Linked DNA regions of Homo sapiens: region 2 is linked to region 1. Evidence: promoter capture Hi-C in human tissues and cell types (Jung and others, 2019). All regions are on one chromosome and are shown on one strand. The core of a region is centred on a gene start or on the middle of the fragment in contact, and the rest is flanking DNA. Distances in the headings are between cores, read along the strand shown.

Region 1 (5,831 bases), core at 1,661-4,160:
AAAACCAAACACCACATGTTCTCACTCATAAGTGGGAGTTGAACAATGAGAACACATGGACACAGGGAAGGGAACATCACACACCACGGCCTGTCAGGTGGTGTGGGGCAAGGGAAGGAAGAGCATTAGGACAAATATCTAATGCACGCAGGGCTTAAAACCTAGATGATGGGTTGATAGGTGCAGCAAACCACCATGGCACATGTATACTTACGTAACAAACCTGCACGTTCAGCACATGTATCCCAGAACTTAAATTAAAATAATAAATAACTAAGTACATATAAAAATTTAAAAGACTGTCCGTTCTACTTGACCACTGCCACATCAGGAGCCCTTGACCCTTGCCAGAATTCAGGAATCCCCATCTCTCCTAGATTCTAATCAAGGAAGAAAATCAGGGACTATATAAAAACCTTTTAGGTGTTGGATTTTAAAAAAAGCATTTGTGCTTGGAAGAATGGGTGGAGAGTGGCTGAAGCCCAAGATGCTGAGAGAAGAAATCTGGACCTCACTCCTAGAGAGGATAGAATGAAGTAGACCACCCCCTTCTTCCTCCCTCCCAATGTTCATTGATGGTTTCCTGGTACCAGACTCATTGCCACATAAAGACTCTAAGATTTTCCCAAAGCAATCAGCACTGGACTCCAAACCAACATGACTAGAAAACTGGACTCTGGGAGTGTATAACTGGCCCTGCCTTATACCAATTTCCCAGGGGGGGAAATGTTATTTTTGATAACATTTTCTATAGAGTCATATCAAAAAGAAAGGCTTTTTTCTTCCTGAATATATCTTTTATTCCTCCTTATCTCTCTTCACTCTTCCTTCTATAACTGGTTTCAGAATTCCCAGGAGAGTTCGGATGGGAGACACCAATGTCCTACCTACCATGGCTTTGGGCAAAATAATTTTTTTTCAGAACCACGGACAGTGGCAAAAGTTTGTTCACCCAGTGGGACTTTTTTTTTTTTTTTTTTTTGAGATGGAGTCTTGCTCTGTCACCCAGGCTGGAGTGCAGTGGCACAATCTCGGCTCACTGCAATCTTCGCCTCCCAGGTTCAAGTGATTCTCCTGCCTCAGCCTCCCAAGTAGCTAGGATTACAGATGCCCACCCACCATGCCCAGCTAATTTTTGTACTTTTAGTAGAGACTGGGTTTCACCATTTTTCCCAGGCTGGTCTCGAACTCCCGACCTCAAGTGATCCACCCGCCTCAGCCTCCCAAAGTGCTGGGATTACAGGTGTGAGCCACCATGTCTGGCCACCTTATGGACTTTTTAGGTGGGTTTTTCCCCAACCTTTGGGCTCAAATTGATTTTTTTTTTTTTTTTGAGACAAGGTCTCACTCTGTCACCCAGGCTGGAGTGCAGTGGCATGATCTCAACTTGCTGCAAACTTCACCTCCCGGGCTCAAGGGATCCTCCCACCTCAGCCTCCTGAGTAGTTGGGACTATAGGCACGTCCAGCTAATTTTGTATTTTTAGTAGAGACAGGGTTTCACCATGTTGGCCGGGCTGGTCTCAAACTCCTGAGCTAAATTGATCCACCTGCCTCGGCCTCCCAAAGTGCTAGGATTACAGGTGTGAACCACCATGCCCAGCCTCTGAAAATAATTTTAATTTTAAAAAAATAATGACAGTGGGATTGGCACCTACTCATATCCCCATATGTCCAACGCGAAGTTGGTCTACCTTGTTCTTGCTTTGAAGCTGACCTCCCCACAGAGTTACGATCCAAGAGCCAACAGTCCAACAGCCAATATTATTAGGGAAAGTAATTCTAATATTTACTAAAGCCCCTAGGAGAATTTCAACAAGTATCCTACACACGTTCTGTGTGGCTGATAGGAAGGATTTTTTTTTTAAGAGACAGGGTCTCACTCCGTTGTCCAGGTTGGAATGCAGTGGTGCGATCACAGCTCACTGCAGCCTCAACCTCCAGGGCTCAAGTGATCCTCCCACCTCAGCCTCCTGGGTAACTGAGACCACGGGCATGTGCCACCAATCCTGGCTAATTTTTTTAAATTTTTTGTAGATATAAGGTCTTGCTGTTTTGCCCAAGCTGGTCTCAAACTTCTAGGCTCAAGGGATTCTCCAACCTTGGCCTCCCAAGTAGCTAGGATTATAGGCATGAGCCACCGTGTCCAACTCCAGTGCCAAGCAGGTGATCAAGAAGTGTTTGATAGGCCGGGTACAGTGGCTCAGGCCTGTAATCCCAGCACTTTGGGAGACCGAGGAGAGCAGATCACTTGAGGTTTGAGATCAGTCTTTCCAACATGGTGAAACCCTGTCTCTACTAAAAATACAAAGACTAGCTGGGCATGGTGGTGGGCACCAGTAATTCCAGCTACTCAAGAGGCTGAGGAGGGAGAATTGCTAGAACCCAGGAGGTGGAGGTTGCAGTGAGCCGAGATTGCTCCACTGTGCTCCAGGCTGGGTGAAAGAGTGACACTCCATCTCAAAAAAAAGTGTTTGATAAATTTATTTATTTAATACCGATTTATTGATTGATTGATACTCTTCGGAGCTTTCCTTAATGAGCCAGTTTCTTCCATAATGCAATGAATGAAAGGACCTCTCAGATTCAGGCATCTGAGTGCCCGACTGGAGTCTGGGACCCCCCAGACCTCTCTGCCTGGGAGCTTCCATGAAGCTCAGCCTGAGCTGGAAGGAGACCGTAGGGAGATGTCCTAGTGAGAGTGAATCCCTAGTCACTGTTTCCTCTTCTTACCCACTCGATGATCCCAAAGCACACCCATCTCCAAAAGAACAGGTCACATGTGGCAGAGGAGAAACAAAATAATTAGCATCCGCTTCCTTAACAAGGAGCTATGGGGACGAAGTCTCCTAGAGTCCCCAGACTATAAATACCCTGATGTTCCCCTGGCTCCCCCACTCACCTGCAGAGTCTGGGGGCGGGGGGGTACACATATGAATCCTTCCCATAGACATCAGGCTAACCCCAGCGATCACAGGTGAGTAGCCCCCATGCCCTTCCTAGGGGTTTAGTGCTGACCTCGGGATCCTCTAGCAGTTGGTGGAGAAGGAGGCTTCCCGGGACCCTCCCCTTGGTGATGCCATCCTGGTGAGCAGGTGAGGGATGGGGAAAGGATTGAGCTGAGGGTGGGGGTGGAGGGTTGTGGGAGAGGAATCTGTCTCCTTCCTAGAGGCCGAGAGAGAGAGAAGAGACTGAGACCAAGTCTAGACTCTCTGAGTGGACAAAGCACGCAGACGGCAGACCCTCTGTGGCAGGATATGTGGAGGAAAAGCACTGAGGGTCTGCAGCTGCAGGACACCTGCACAGATAGGAGAGGTCTTGAGAAACAAGTTTCTCCAATGCAGCAGCTCCCCAAGTGTGGTCCCTGGGCTAGAAGCACCAGCATCCTCTGGAAACTATCTAGAAGTGCTGGTTCTTACACCAGACATTTCAGGGAAAGGGCTTAGCTTTTTGTGTATGATGAGTTTGGGAGCGGGGGGGAGGGGGCGGGGGGATTGTTTTGTTTGTTTGTTTGTTCTTTCTGTTTTTGAGACAGGGTCTCGCTCTGTTGCCCAGTCTGGAGTGCAGTGGCATTATCATAGCTCATCGCAGCCTCGACCTCCCAAGCTCAAGTGATCCTCCCTCCTCAGCCTCCCGGGTACCTGGGATAACAGACATATACCACCATGCCTGGCTAATTTTATTTTCGTAGAGGCAGGGATCTTCCTATGTTGCCCAGGATGGTCTCACACTCCCGGGCTCAAGAGATCCTCCTACCTTGGCCCCCCAAGCAGCTGGGACTAACAGGTGTGTGCCACCATGTCCAGCTAATTTTTTATTTTGTAGAGATGGGGGTCTCACTGTGTTGCCCAGGTTGGTCTCTAACTCCTGGACTCAAGGGATTCTCCCACCTCAGCCTTCTGAGTAGCTGGGACTATGGAAGCATGCCACCATGCCCAGCAGATTGTTTTATTTTTTGTAGATCCAGGGCGGGATTGGGGGTGGGGTGGCCTCACTTTGTCTGCCAGGCTGGTCTTGAACTCCTGGCCTCAAGCAATTCTCCCACTTCAGCCTCCCAAAGTGCTGGGATTACAGGTGTGAGCCACCATGCCTGGCCCGCTTTTTGTGTTTTAACAAGCCTTCCAGGTGACCCTGAAGCGTGCTCAAGGTTGAGAACCGCTGCTCTATGCAACCCAAGTCAACAACTGAGGACTGTTACAAATATGTTGCCAGGAAGGGAATCGCAGTATTCTATCCAGCCTAGAGAAAACCAAGCATTGCATTGCAAAAACCTCAAGTCCAACACTAAAAAGCCTCAAAAAGTTAACATAGGGCTTTGCTGAAGGCCTCTTGGGGTTACCAAGGAGATTATGCTGCTAACCTTCCTAAAAACCCCTTTCATCGGCTGGGCGCTGAAATGATGAGATTACTGGGCTCACGCCTGTAATCTCAGTACTTTGGGAGGCCAAGGTGGGCGGATCACCGGGTCAGGAGTTCAAGACCAGCCTGGCCAACAGGCTTAGTAGAGGCGAAACCCCGTCTCTACTAAAAATACAAAAATTAATCGGGCGTGGTGATGCACACCTGTAATCCCAGCTATTCGGGTGGCTGAGGCACAAGAATCACTTGAACCCAGGAGACGGATGTTGCAGTGAGCCGAGATCGTGCCACTGTACTCTAGCCTAGGTGACAGAGTGAGACTCTGTCTCGAAAAGAAACACGTGTAAATGCTTGTAATTGAATATTTTTCCCTTGCACGTGTTGACAGCACAGAATTTAGCTTCGAAATGCCTCATAAAGAGGTGAGAGTGGCCATTCTTAGGGAGGCAGTGGAGTATGAGAGTGAAAATAAGTCTAAATTCAAAGGCGAGATCAGGCACTTGCAAGCTGAGTGCCCCTGGCAGCTCGCTCAGCCCCAGTCTGCTCACTGTAAATTGTAGCTAACACAATCTCCCTGTGGGAGTTATTGTAAGACCTATGCATTAAGAAACTGGCTCCTGGCTGGCTGCAGTGGCTCACGCCTGTAATCCCAGCACTTTGAGAGATCAAGCCGGGCAGATGATGAGGTCAGGAGTTCAAGACCAGTCTGACAAACATGGTGAAACCCCATCTCTACTAAAAATACAAAAATTAGCCATGCGTGGTGGTGCTCGCCTGTCATCCCAGCTACTCAGGAGGCTGAGGCAGGAGAATCTTTTGAACCCAGGAGGCGGGGGTTGCAGTGAGCCAAGATCGCGCCACTGCACTCCAGCTTGGGTGACAGAGTAAGACTCCATCTCAAAAAAGAAAAGAAAGAAAGAAACCGGCTCCTCATCAGGATAAATAGCTAATGCATGCTGGGCTTAATACCGAGGTGATGGCTTGATAGGTGCAGCAAACCACTATGGCACACGTTTACCTATGTAACAAACCTGCACGTCCTGCACGTGTATCCTGGAACTTAAAATAAAATGATAAAATTAAATAAAATAAAAATCATGCTGAGCAGCCAATAGCTGGGGGAAAAAAAAAGAAAGAAACTGGCTCCTAAGAAGGTTTAACCCATTACAGATATCATTATTGCTGAGGGCAAAATAAAAACACCTGTCCCAGCTACTAGGAAGGCTGAGGTGGGAGGAACACCTGAGCTCAGGAGGTACAGGCTGCAGTGAGCTGTGATTGTGCCACCGCACTGCAGCCTGGGTGACAGAGTGAGACCCTGTCTCAAAATAAATTAAATTAAATTAAATAGATCTTGTATTAGATAATTTTGCCTAACTGTAGGCTAACGTAAGTGTTCTGAGCACATTGAAGGTGGGCTAGGCTAAGCTGTGATGTTTGGTAGGTTAGGTATGTTCAATGCATTTTTGACTT
Region 2 (5,831 bases), core at 1,065-3,564, 550 kb after region 1:
TTTTGTGACTTTGGTTTTCTAATGCTTACATCTTTGTTGCTTCTGGAATTAATTTTGTTATAGGACTGAGGGTCAGAGGGAGGTGGTGAGAGGGTCTCCAGGGGCAGCAGGAGGGCCGTGTATGCTCTCTGGATAATTGTTGGGTGTTTCCTTAGGGACGACCTGGCCCAGTTGCCCTTCCTGACCATGTGCCTGAAGGAGAGCCTGCGGTTGCATCCCCCAATCCCTACATTCGCCCGCGGCTGCACCCAGGACGTGGTGCTCCCAGACAGCCGAGTCATCCCCAAAGGTGCCCTCCATGGCAGGGGAGGAGGGTCCTGGGCAGGGCGGTGGTCCCAGCAGGCAGCTCGGACCTTGTTCTTACTGTCCTCTCCTGCACGACAGGGAATGTCTGTAACATCAACATCTTCGCAATCCATCACAACCCCTCAGTCTGGCCAGACCCTGAGGTGCTGCCCCTCCCTGTTTCTCCATCCCCCGGGCCTGGTCGGGGGAGGGGTCTTGTCCCGGAAAACCAGATACTCCCTCTCTACTCCACCCACATCTGTTTTATGTGGGGGTGGCTGGGTGTCCTGAGAGGCCCCATCAGCAGCCTTAACTTGCCTCCACCCCAGGTCTATGACCCCTTCCGCTTCGACCCAGAAAACGCCCAGAAGAGGTCACCTATGGCTTTTATTCCTTTCTCGGCGGGGCCCAGGTGAGGCCAGGGGGTGTCTGAGGTGGGCATGGGCTGAGGGTGGCACAGATGGCTGCCTTGTCAGATGCCTGACTTGTAGGACCACGTGTTTCTGTGATAGGGGTTTTAAAGAAGATCCTAGGAAAAAGGGTGTGCTCAGAGCCTCCTGCCCCGTCTGGTTTCAGTTGGGGCTGGGGTCTGGGCTAGGCTCTGGGAATATGCAAGCCCACATGGGGGTCCCAGACCCAGCTTCCCCCCTGTCTGCCCAAGGTGATCTGGGTGGGGTTGGGGGTTCCGGGCCTGGTTCCTGGCGCAGTGGGGCCGGGATCTGGGTCCTGGGTGCAGTCAGACCTTCCACCTTGGCCCCCAGGAACTGCATCGGGCAGAAGTTCGCGATGGCAGAGATGAAGGTGGTCCTGGCGCTCACGCTGCTGCGCTTCCGCATCCTGCCCGACCACAGGGAGCCACGCAGGACGCCGGAGATTGTTTTGCGTGCGGAGGACGGACTTTGGCTGCGAGTAGAACCCCTGGGCTGAGGCCTGCAGTGACCCACCCACCTACCTTTGCATCACCTACCTTTGCACCAACTACCTTTTCAGATTTCCGGTAATAAATCTGTGTTGGCCCCTGTGCCTCAGTCCCGCGGATGGCCAGTAGGGGGCGCTGGAGGACTGCGGGGATCTAGGGCCTGGCTGGGAAGAGGCGGGGAGATGTCTCTGTGCCCAAGATACTCACTGCCTCTCTGGGTGAGCACAGGAGCCCCGTGCTGAGGGTGGGATCTCCCAGAGTCTAAGTAAAGACTTTTTCCCCCCCAAAATAATTGTGTATTCTGATATAAATTTTTGCCAATTTAGAATCCCTGTTTTTTAGCTAGGTGCATAGCAGCCTGAAATACAGATCACATTTGAAAGCCTTTCTTGAAGCTCAATTGGTTAAGTGACTGTGGCTGTCCCATGTGTAGAAGCCAAAGATTATGTGGTAATTCTGGTAACCTTTCTTAAGAGAAAGCTGCTACAGTCTGTCTGCTCAGTCCTCCCCTCTTCCTTCCTGCTGCTTGGAAGATTTTTTTTTTTTTTTGAGACATGGTGTCTCTCGTCGCCCAGGCCGGAGTGCAGTGGCTCACTGCAACCTCCACCTCCTGGGTTCAAGTGATTCTCCTGACTCAGTCGCCTGAGTAGATAGGATAACAGGCGCCTACCACCACACCCGGCTAATTGTATTTTTAGTACAGATGGGGTTTTGCTATGTTGGCCAGGCTGGTCTCAAACTCCTGGCCTCAAGTGATCAGCCCACCTCAGCCTCCCAAAGTGCCAGAATTGCAGGTGTGAGAATAAAAATTCTTGAGTTTCAATGTTTATTTTAGAATCAGGTGCTAACATGCAAATTTATTACAAAGGTATATTGCATCATGCTGAGGTTTGGAGTATGAATGACTCCATCACCCATGTAGTGAGCATAGTATCTAATAGGCAGTTTTTCAGCTTTTCCCCCTCCCTGCTTCCCCTGTCTAGTAGTCCCCAGGATCTGTTGTTCCCATCTTTATTACCATGTGTATCCAATGCATACCTCCCACTTATAAGTGAGAACATGCAATATTTTGTTTTCTGTTCCTGCATTAGTTTGCTTAGGATAATGGCCCCCAGCTGCATCTATGTTGCTGCAAACGACATGATTTTGTACTTTTTAATGACTGCATAGTATTTCATGGTGTATTTCTACACATTTTCTTTATCCACTCCACCATTGATGGGCACCTGTGTTGATTCAGCATCTTCGCTATTGTGATTAGAGCTGCGATAAACATGTGGATGCTTGTGTCTTTTTGGCAGAATGATTTATTTTCTTTTGGGTGTATACCCAGTCGTGGGATTGCTAGGTCAAATGGTAGTTCAACTCTCAATTCTCTGAGAAATATCCTAACTGCTCTCCACACTCCATTAGTTTAGTGGCTGAACTAATTTATATTTCCACCAACAGTGTATAAATGTTCCTTTTTCTCCATAGCCTTGGCAACATCTGCTATTTTTTGACTTTTTAACAAATTGCTTGCAAGATTGATGTGGCCTCTGGAGCTCCATCTTGGCTCATGAGGACAGGGACTGCTATTTAGGGCAGATGGGGCAGATGGCTAGAAGCAGTCAGGGTCTATGACCCTAGATCCATGCTGTGACCTGAATGTTTATGTAGCCCCCAAATCCATACATTGAAGCCTAGTCTGCATATGGTGGTATTAAGAGGGGAGGCCTTTGGGAGGTGATTAAGTTGTGAGGGCTCTGCCTTCGTAAGTGAGATTACCCCTTATAACAGAGACCTGAGGGAGCTTGTTTGCCCCTTCCACCATGTAAAGACACGTGCAAGGTGCCATCTATGAGGAACAGGCCCTTAGTTGACACTGAACCTGCAGGCACCTTGATCTTGGACTTCCCAGCCTCCAAAATTGTAAGCAATAAATACCTGTTGTTTATAAACTACCTAGTGTAAGTTATGTTGTCATAGCAGCCTGAATGGGCTAAGATAATCCATATCCCCTTGGAATTGTACTAAACATCACCTTGAAGTTGTATTATAAATGTCAGAATCCCAGTCTGCTATTCACTAGCTGATTGGCTTGGGGAAAACTTGTTTATCTCTGTAGCCCTGGTTTTGTTTACCACTTAATAGTATTCACCTCATTGGGCTGCTGGAAGACTGAACAAGCCAGTATCTACAACATCCCTGAGCCACATCTGTTGGGTATTAGCGGTCCATGAGGGTTAATTGCCTCTCTTTCTCTTCTTTTTGCATCACATTTGAAGTTTTGACATTTTAAAAAATCGCAAGAGGTTGCTTCAAGCTTTGGGATGCATGGCAACCTTCTCTTGAGGAAAATTCATTCGAATGTTTTGTGTGCTCAAAATATCCGTTATTACATCCGAGAATCTACAGTGGACTTTGGTGAAAGGTTGGCCCAAAGCTTAGAACGGAAAAAATTAATTTTTCCAGAGAGGCACGACTCAGAATTTATTCCTGTCTAAAAAGTTCAGGTCATGAAGGTTTTCAAGTGAGAGGAAGGTAGAGGGTGTGGGCTGGGCGGGGGGCGGGCGGGGGGGGGGAGGGGCCGCCCCTTTCAGCACCAGGGACAGCGGCTGCACCTGGACTTTCCCCTGTCTGACTGTAGGGGGCTCCTGCGGGGCGCAGAGTCCAAGGACTGAGCGCTTTTCAGGGGCCCATAGATTGGGAACCTGGAAGGATTATTGGCTGCAAAATAAGAATGGAACATTGCAAAACGAAATAAATAACTATTTAATATATTCTATGCTGAAAGTCAATTTTTCTTCCCTTTAAAGTTTAAGTTTCATAAATAATGCATGCTTATAGAAGAAATTGCAAGAAATAAAAATCATCCATAATTTCAAAATGTCAGAATAATCACTGTTTATATTTTCTTGCATATGCTTCCAGTTTTTAATTCATATGTGATCTTTTTACATATGAAAATGTTTATTTACATCTATATAGCTGTGTCATATCACATTTGCATGTAATTTTGTTTACAAGTGCTATTTTCCTGCCAAATGAGCACATGAAAAGATGCTAAACATTATTCCCATTATGCAAACCAAAAGCACAACGTGATGTCACCTCAACACCTACAGGATGGCTAGCATCTAAAAAAGGGAATATAACAAATGTTGGAGAGGATATGGAGTAATCGAAGCCCTCATCCATTCCTGGTGTGACTGTAAAAATGGTGCAGCTGCTGTGGAAAACAGTCTGGAGATTCTGAAAAACTAAAACATAGAATTACTATATGATGCAATTCCACGATATCATATTAAGCTCCTAGCTATATACTCAAAAGAATAGAAAACAGTTGTTCAAACAAAAAAGCTTGTACATTCGTGCTTATAGCAGCCCTATTCACAATTGCCAAAAGGTAGAAAGAACTCAAATATCCATTAACAGATGGATGGATAAAGAAAATGTGATCTATTCGTATAATGAAATATTACTCAGCCATTAAAAGGAATGAAGTACTGATACATACTACCACCTGGATGAACCTTGAATACATTATAGTATGTGAAAGAAGTCAGACACAAAAGGTCACATAGTGTATGATTTATTTATAAGAAATGTCCATCTGGGTGTGGTGGCTCATGCCTGTAATCCCAGCACTTTGGGAGGCCCAGGCAGGCAGATCACTTGAGGTCAGGAGTTCAAGAGCAGCCTGGCCAACAGGGTGAAACCCCGTCGCTACTAAAAATACAAGAAAAATTAGCTGGGCGTCATGGGATATGCCTGTAATCCAAGTTACTTGGGAGGCTGAGGCAGGAGAATCACTTGAACCCAGGAAGTGGAGGTTGTGGTGAGCTGAGATCATGCCATCACGCCACTGCACTCCAGTCTGGGCAACAGAGTGAGACTCTGTCTCAAAAAAAAAAATGTCCAGAATAGGCAAATCTATAGAGACAGAAAGGAGATTGGTGGTGTCAGGAGCTGTGGGGAAGTGGGAAGAGGAAGTGCTAATGGGGTCAGGATTTCCTGCTGGGTGGTGAAGATGTTCTGGACCTAGATAGTGGTGAAGTTTCCACAACACTGTGCATATACCAAATGCTACTAAATTGTACCCTTTAAAATGGTGAATTTTATGTTTTGTGAATTTTACCCAAACAAAAAATGCTATTTTATCTCAAATTTTTGTTAATTTGGGCTACTCACACGATATGCTGTTAACATCTTTCCATGACATCAAATCATTTTATGAAACATTATTTTGTGGTTTTAACAAATATTTGGGTTATGTATTCAAACCACTCTATTTCTTAAAAATGGCGTGATGTTACAAAATGATATAAAAGTGCTTTGTCTCACGTTGCAAGAATTGTCTTCATACAAGTTGACAGTTTGAGGTATCATTGGTTACAAATTGAGTAACTTCATCAAATAAGTTTTGGGGTAAAGATTTCATTTTCAAAGCAATAGATAACAACTATTTTTTGTCTTTCTACTCAATATATGGGTAGTTTACATACCGCAGTTACAGTGTTATAGTATTGTGTTTGTCTATGTACTTACAGTGAGTTTTGTACCTTCAGATGATTTCTTATTGCTCATTAACATCTTCTTCTTTCAGTGAGGAACTCCCTTTAGCATTTCTTTTAAGACAGGTCTG

What was found. Contacts are between HindIII fragments. The study calls those that stand out against the background at their distance.
Region 2: a fragment that was not itself captured here is called in contact with the fragment with the promoter of OR1I1 in region 1 in 2 of the 25 tissues and cell types used here (aorta and bladder).

What each region holds. Positions count from the first base shown.
Region 1 is chr19:15,079,301-15,085,131 of GRCh38, forward strand. It overlaps OR1I1 (olfactory receptor family 1 subfamily I member 1), which reads left to right and starts at 2,911. Exons shown (of 2, transcript NM_001004713.2): 1 at 2,911-2,976. The HindIII fragment of the contact is 16,029 bases long and covers 920-5,831 here.
Region 2 is chr19:15,628,147-15,633,977 of GRCh38, forward strand. CYP4F8 (cytochrome P450 family 4 subfamily F member 8) reads left to right here. Exons shown (of 13, transcript NM_007253.4): 10 at 156-289; 11 at 385-449; 12 at 615-697; 13 at 1,047-2,493. The coding sequence ends at 1,212. Among named protein-coding and RNA genes, the nearest start is that of CYP4F3, 9.8 kb to the right of the region's middle. RefSeq lists a silencer at 1,420-1,469. The HindIII fragment of the contact is 7,008 bases long and covers 1-5,818 here.